Regions from separate parts of the Homo sapiens genome. Here region 2 is linked to region 1. The links are contacts of gene promoters, found by promoter capture Hi-C in blood cells and fetal thymus (Javierre and others, 2016). All regions are on one chromosome and are shown on one strand. The core of a region is centred on a gene start or on the middle of the fragment in contact, and the rest is flanking DNA. Distances in the headings are between cores, read along the strand shown. Region 1 holds the start of CHCHD6 (coiled-coil-helix-coiled-coil-helix domain containing 6). Region 2 holds the start of TMCC1 (transmembrane and coiled-coil domain family 1).

Region 1 (3,409 bases), core at 603-3,102:
CCAAGCTTATCTTTCTAAATTCCAATTCAGGTTCCTCCCTCTCGGCCTTCCAACACAAGCCATCTCCTCCCCCATTTAATCCTTGCCACGAGTGAGGTCCACAAAACTATACAACGCCTAGCAAGCACCAAATGTGCCAAGTACTCTGCTAGGCTAAGAAGAGAGGCCTCCACAAAGCACTCTCTCTGTGCGTTTCCTTAACACTTTCACAGACATCATCTTATCCTAGGCAGTACCTAGGATACATACACACCCAATTTTTTTTTTAATGTGGCCATTGAGGCTCAAAAGAGTTTTTTACCCAAGGTCACACAGCTAATGAGCACCTGCCAGAACTCCTGAAGTCTGTCTTTCTAAGCCACCTCCCTAATTCCTCCTTAATTAACTAATTCATCTACACCCAGCTCTGTGCGTTTCATTTAATCCTAGTCCCTTTTACTGGGTTCATTCATCTCTCCACAGTTACTTACAAAGCACCTGCAGGTGTAGACACAGGTGGAGGAAGAGGCCGAGCACAGCAACATGCCCTGGAATTGGCTTGTTTCAATCCCAGCTCTCCCACTTACTATTTACATGATCTTGGATCAGTTCGTTCACCTCTCAGTGCCTCACTTCTCCTTAATCTACAATAATGGGCTAAATAGGGCTGTTGAAAATTAAATCAGTTAACTTATAAAGGGTTTAGTCCAACGCATGGCCCCTACACTGCAATAAGAGCTGCTTTTATTCTTCTGGGTTCTGGGGACAGTCTTCAATCAGACAGGAACCTTAGCCTCAAAAAGCTTACACTCTAGCAGTAAACGCAATAAACAAGTAAACAATTATCAACAGAAGCGATCACTGTGATGAGTGCTATGAAAATAATAAATGTTGGACGCGGGGTGGGAGGTTACTTCAGATTGGGTGGTCAGGGAAGGATTCTCTGGTGATATCTGAATTACAACAAGAATTACAAGAAACAGCGGGATTTAAGGAGAGCTGAAGGAGAGAGAACAGCCGGCGCACAGACCCTGAGCTGAGCCAGCGGCACCCTCCAGGAAAACACGGCGGTCCTGAGGCTGGGGACGAGGTGCGGGTGCCACGCGAGGGAAATGGCACGAGATGCAGTCCCAGAGGGATGCAGTCCCCAGAGGTCGACGGGCAGCGGCCAGCTTTGGAACCAGGGAAGGCATCATCCAAGCGCGCTAGGAACCCACTGGAGGGTTTCAGGCAAGGAAGGGGATCAGATCTGAGCTATGGTTCTTCCTGCGCCCCGCAGATGTGCTGTGGAGAACAGGCCGGCGGGGAAGAGCTGAGTCCCCAGGCAAAGCCCAGGTGGGAGACACCGCGTACCCAGAACGAGATGCGCGCACCTGAGGGGCCACGGGCTGGGAGGCCGGGCGCAAATTCAAGAAACGTAAAAACTAAGCCGACCGGAGCCAGGACGTGGCCAGGGCGTCCCTCGTGTCCCAGGGGCCTCGCACCTGTACAGTTCTTCACTCCTCCTTCCCTGAAGCCCATGTCGCGAAGCTCCAAGGCTGCCAGCCTCGGGCTCGCGTCTCGGCTCAGCCTCTTCCTGGCCTGAGCCCCCGGAGTCTCCCAAGCCCCACGCCCCTCACGCGTGGAAAGAGCCCCGGCCCTGCGCTCCGCCCCGCACCTCCCCCCCGCGCCCGCGGCCTCCACGCCCGCCCCGGCCCAGGCGGCGCCGCTCACCCGGACACCCTGCAGCACCCGGACCCGCTCCTCCTCGTCCACTCCGAAGGACACCCTGCGGCCCTCGCTGCTCTCCGTGCTCCCCATGGCGAGATGCCGCAGGGCCGGCAGCCACCAGACCCGAGACCCGGCTCCAGAGCAACCGGGCCAACAACGCTTTCCAGGACTCGCGCGGCCGCGGCACACGCCAACAAAGCCACGTCCTATTGGCCGACGCCAGAGGCTTCACCAATCGGGTGGCGCTGAGTCGCGGTGCCTTGTGGGGATTGCAGTCCTTCCGTCTGGAGGGGTGGGGGCGTGGCGGTCTGTGCCTGCTAGAGTGCGTTAGGCTGAGGCCGAAGATGTGTACCGGCGGAGGCCCTGGAGTGGAGGGCTGGGTGCAGGACAGGGTCACGTTCTCGCTTTGGGAGCTCCCCCTTGAGGGAGAGCCAAGGGTGATGTTCTGAGGCCAGGAGACGCCGAGACGGCCAAGGCGCTCATCTGGAGGCGAATTTCTGAGGGTTCACTGCTCCATTCATTCAGCAAACACGTGTAGAGCAGCACGGGCTGAGCGCCAGACGAGCAGGGACCTGGCCCTGGCATTACAGCGCCCCTCAAGACAGCGAGTGTCCTGCCCTTGAGAGGTTTACAGTGCAAGGGGAAAACAAGTGAAAAGCCAAACACGCACGCAAGGAAACTGACTGTAATACACGGAAAACTGCATGGCGATGCCACTAGTAAAATGAACAGAAGGAGGCCTCTTTTAATTTCAGTGGCCAGAGCAACCTCTGAGGAAGAAGCTTTGAACTGAGCCGGCGGGAGAGTAGGATTTATGTAGAAAAAGGTAGGGGAAGAGGTTTCCTGGGAGTCTCAGGCAGGAAAAGAGAAAGAGGGGTCATCCCATGGCTGGAAAGTGAGAAGAGGGCAGAGGAGTGGTGAGGACCCAAATCATGTCGGGTCTTGTGAGGCAGGGTCTGAGTGTGGGTTTTATTCTAAACGCCCCGGGAGGACAGGGAATGGTCCTAAGCCGTTAGGAGGCATTGCCCAAGGAGTGTACATACCATGTGTGGAGTGCAGTGTGCCAGGCATTGTGTGTAGGCTTCTTACACAGGACCCTATGTGTAAGGGAGCACACAGACGGTTGCCAGTCATAGACACTGCTACCTTCAAATAAGCCCCTTTTTGTTCCTCTGAGTTGCTGAATGGCTTTGATTTGCAAAAGTGCGCCTGAAGCCGAGCTGAGGAAAACTAGATGGCTACATGAAATAGCCAGAAAATATTTGGAGCTCCTATTGGCAACCTGGAAAGAAAGGGGTGAGGAGGAGAGAATGATTGAGAGAGAGCAGTAAGGCTCTGAGATTGAGAATAGCTCAGGGTGAAGAAGCTAGTAAACATCCCAGAGCTGGTGTGACGATGGAATCTTTAGGAACAAAGGTGTCTGCTAGTTTCATTCAAAATACTTCATTGGCGCACCCCACTCCATCACCTCTGTCGTCCATTTCTTCCCTATAAGCAGAGCCTGCGTAGGGGATTCTGGTGCAAGGAGTTTCCTGGGGGAGCACCTCAGGAGAAAGGAAGTTAGGGAGACAGGCTAAGAGGGGTGGGGACCGGGGGCCGCGGGGAAAACTGAGTAAAGATGTGGTCAGACCTGGTCCTGGGCTTTCCTTTGTCTCTTTTCCTTGGAGGTTTATGATTACTAATTCAATCTCCTTACTCGTTATTGGTCTGTTCAGATTTT
Region 2 (3,409 bases), core at 682-3,181, 3.2 Mb before region 1:
CCAAGGTCACAAATACTTTTTCTATGTTTTCTTCTAAAATTTTCTTTTATAGGTTTAGCTTTTAAATTTAGGTTTATCATCCATTTTGAGTTACCTCAGGTGGCTCCTTCAGTGCTTCTGAAATCTATAAATGCATCCTCCACCAACCTCAAATCTAAGTAAACCTTGCCACCTCCTTCTCCTTCACTCCTCATTCAATTTATTGCCAAGTCCTGTCCATTTTACCACTACATTAGCACTCTTCTCTGTCACTACCCTCCTACTTTGCCTTGACTATGTGGCCAGTGGCCTCCTAACTGGCTTCCCGGCCCCAGCTTTGAGACTCCCATCAGACCACTCTTCACGTTGCTATCTAAGTAACTTAAAAACAGACATAATGGGCTGGGGGCAAGGTGGCTCACACCTGTAATCCCAGCACTTTGGGAGGCCGAGGTGGGTGGATCATGAAGTCAGGAGATTCAGACCATCCTGGCCAACATGGTGAAACCCCGTTTCTACTAAAAATACTAAAAAAATTAGCTGGGTGCAGTGGCGTGCACCTGTAGTCCCAGGTACTAGGGAGGCTGAGGCAGGAAAATCACTTGAACCCGGGAGGCAGAGATTGCAGGGAGCCGAGATCGCGCCACTGCACTCCAGTCTGCCTCTCAAAAACAAAAAACAGACATAATGATCAAGTTATTTCCCCTGCAACCCTGCTGAAAAAAACCTGAATAGCTTCTACCAAGCACTCAGATTAAAGTCCCAAATCCGGCCGGGTGTGGTGGCTCATGCCTGCAATCCCAGCACTTTGGGAGGCCGAGGCGGGCAGATCACAAGGTCAGGAGTTCCAGACCAGCCTGGCCAAGATGGCGAAACCCCATCTCTACTAAAAATACAAAAATTAGCCAGGTGCGCTGGCGTGCGCTGGTAGTCCAGCTACTCCGGAGGCTGAGACAGGAGAATCGCTTGAACCCAGGAGGCGGAGGTTGCAGTGAGCTGAGATCGAGCCATTGCACTCCAGCCTGGGTGACCTGGGTGACAGAGTGAGACTCTGTCTCAATAAATAAATAAATAAATAGGTCCCCAATCCTCACCTGTTCTCGCCTACCTCTTCCCACACTCGCAGTCTACTCCACATTCAATATTCTTTAGCGCTCCCCATTCTGGCCATGCCAAGACCTCACCCCTTGGAGCAACTAACTCCTCCCAACTCAATTCCTCAGATTCTACCCTCTTCATCCTCAACTAAATCAATTCCCCCATAAAGATTCTCTTAGTACCATATACCTCTCAGAAGATTTTTACTAATTGAAAACTTAATTTTGTCTGATTCTCCCATGAATGTTTTCCTTCTCCACCAGATCTCAAACTTCATGAGACCAGGGACTCCGTTGACCCCATATGGTACTCCCAGCTCCTTGAACACGGAAGAAGCCTCATTACATAAGTAATAAAAATAAAATAAATTAGGAAAATGGGAATTATAAAGGGATGGGCTGGTGGCTGCTTACAATCCCTTCAGTGGTAATACCTGGTGCAAAGTAATGAGTCTCTGCCCTTTTCCAAGCAGCCTGCTAGGTGGAATGAAGGAAGGCCTTGCGACTCAAATAGGGAGAACAAACGTGTGATCCAGAGCGGCGGGCAGAAATCCGACGAAACCCCATATTACTCAGGGGCGTTGCTCCTAGGGCGAGGGTGGCTCGGTTCCTAGAGCTTTTTGAGAGGAGGAGCTTACCTGGAGCAACTCAGCACTACCTGCAGCGGCGCAGCTCAACCAGCCCAGAGACCGCGTGGGAAGGCGGGCTAGGGGAGGGGCCACGCCTTCCAGGGCCCATCCCCGCCCCTGCGGCGTGCGCGCGCCCGTCCGCCCGCTCCCTTGCGCGTGCGCCGCCGGCCGGGGGCGGAGGTTGTGGGCGGTGGCGGCTGTGGCGGGGGCGCGCGCGCGCTCGCTCTCTCGCGCCGGTTCGCCCTCCCGCGCCGGGGCTGAGGCGGCGGCGGCGGTGGCGGTGACTGAGGCGGCGGCGGCTGAGGCGGCGCGGGGGGAGGGTCGGGAGGGGGGGGTGGTTGTGGGGGATGGACCGGGTGCGGCGGCCGCAGTGGAAGGAGCAGGCGCTTGAGCTCGAGCGACGGCGCTGGCGGAGACGCCGGCTGCTCCTCCCCTCCCCGCCGGTGAGTGAGCGCCCCCGCCCCGGACGCTGGCGGCGGTCGCGGCCCCCTCACGGCCCTCCGCGGTGGGTGGGGACAGTCGTGAGGGAGCGTGGCCTGGCGGCGCAGCGGACGCGGGCCTGGCCTCCCGCTCGCGGCCTGTCGGGGCTGGGACCTGCCGTCGCCCCCGTTCGAGGTTGAAGCCCCGGGCCTAGGACTCGACCCCCAGCATCCCACGGGGCCTCTTTCCTTTCCCGGCTCATTCCGCTGTCATTTTGACCTGGGGTTCCCCTCCAGCCCCTCGCCTCGTTCCCTTCCCAGCATCCCAGGGCCGAGGTGAGGGAGGGGCGTGTGAGAAGTCGGGCCGAGGCCCGAGGGACTGTTTAGGAGCCGGTTCCCGTCGGAATCTGGGGTTTTAGGAGCCCTCGATCGCCATGGCGTCCCAGAAGTTAGCCACCAGGACTCAGCCATTTCCACCTGAAACCAGTTTTGCACCTATTGTTTTGATTTTGAACTGTCTTTCGAGGGGAGGAGGGAGCCCGGCGTACTGGGGAGAATATGTAGTGGGAGGTGGGATGTGAGGAGGAGCTGGCTGGGCTTGGTCTCGGCCTCAGGATGCCCCCTGTTAACCCCTGTAGGATAGGGGAAAGAGGTGCAGCGAGTTGCACCTTCCCTAAAGGGCCAGAGATTCGTTTATAGCTTGCGAATCTCTGCTTTTTCAGCCTCGGTAAAGGGGTATCATTTGTGGTTGGTTTGGTTCGTCCCTTAACAACATTCTTGGTGAGGAATCCCCAGGTGAATCTGCCACGGAGTGAAGCAGCCCACTTGAGCTGTTGGCTACCCCCGGCCCCCGCAACGCCCGTTGGCTTTTGTGACACGTTACACGTTAGTGTTGGTAGAGCCTAGCCGTCAGAGGTACCTGTACCATAAGCATCTCTACGAAAGGTGTGAATTCCTAAATTAGCTTATTCTGTTCTTAAAAAAAAAAAATCCAGGGCATAAATATCAGATAGCTGCTTTAAAATAAAACAAAACTTTGATTTGTTCCAGGAGGTAGATACATTTTTTTCTCTGTATATTAGGAGATTGAAACTCAAATTGTGAGTAGGTGGTAGTTTTACTAGTGTCATGTGACAAAACGATGCTTATAGATGGGATTTTAACTTAATAACCCTGTCCTCTACCAACAGAGTTGGCTTGTATTTTTTTGCAATCACCCACTCTCTGGCTAGTGTAGAAAGATTAAAAAGCTGCTTCTGGTCTGTGGGTGGTAACCTTTTAATTT

The links. Contacts are between HindIII fragments. The CHiCAGO score rates a contact against its expected background, and 5 or more counts as called.
Region 2: a contact is called between the fragment with the promoter of TMCC1 here and the fragment with the promoter of CHCHD6 in region 1, in 2 of 17 cell types (non-activated CD4 T cells and naive CD4 T cells). The highest score is 7.4, in non-activated CD4 T cells.

The regions. Positions count from the first base shown.
Region 1 is chr3:126,702,683-126,706,091 of GRCh38, reverse strand. CHCHD6 (coiled-coil-helix-coiled-coil-helix domain containing 6) reads right to left here and starts at 1,852. Exons shown (of 8, transcript NM_032343.3): 1 at 1,693-1,852. The coding sequence starts at 1,779. RefSeq lists enhancers at 601-1,152, 2,213-2,272 and a silencer at 1,463-1,662. The HindIII fragment of the contact is 1,689 bases long and covers 785-2,473 here.
Region 2 is chr3:129,892,233-129,895,641 of GRCh38, reverse strand. It overlaps TMCC1 (transmembrane and coiled-coil domain family 1), which reads left to right and starts at 1,931. Exons shown (of 7, transcript NM_001017395.5): 1 at 1,931-2,148. It overlaps TMCC1-DT (TMCC1 divergent transcript), which reads right to left and starts at 1,771. Exons shown (of 3, transcript NR_037893.1): 1 at 1,715-1,771. RefSeq lists a silencer at 1,674-2,403 and enhancers at 1,765-2,556, 2,557-3,349. The HindIII fragment of the contact is 6,422 bases long and covers 1-3,409 here.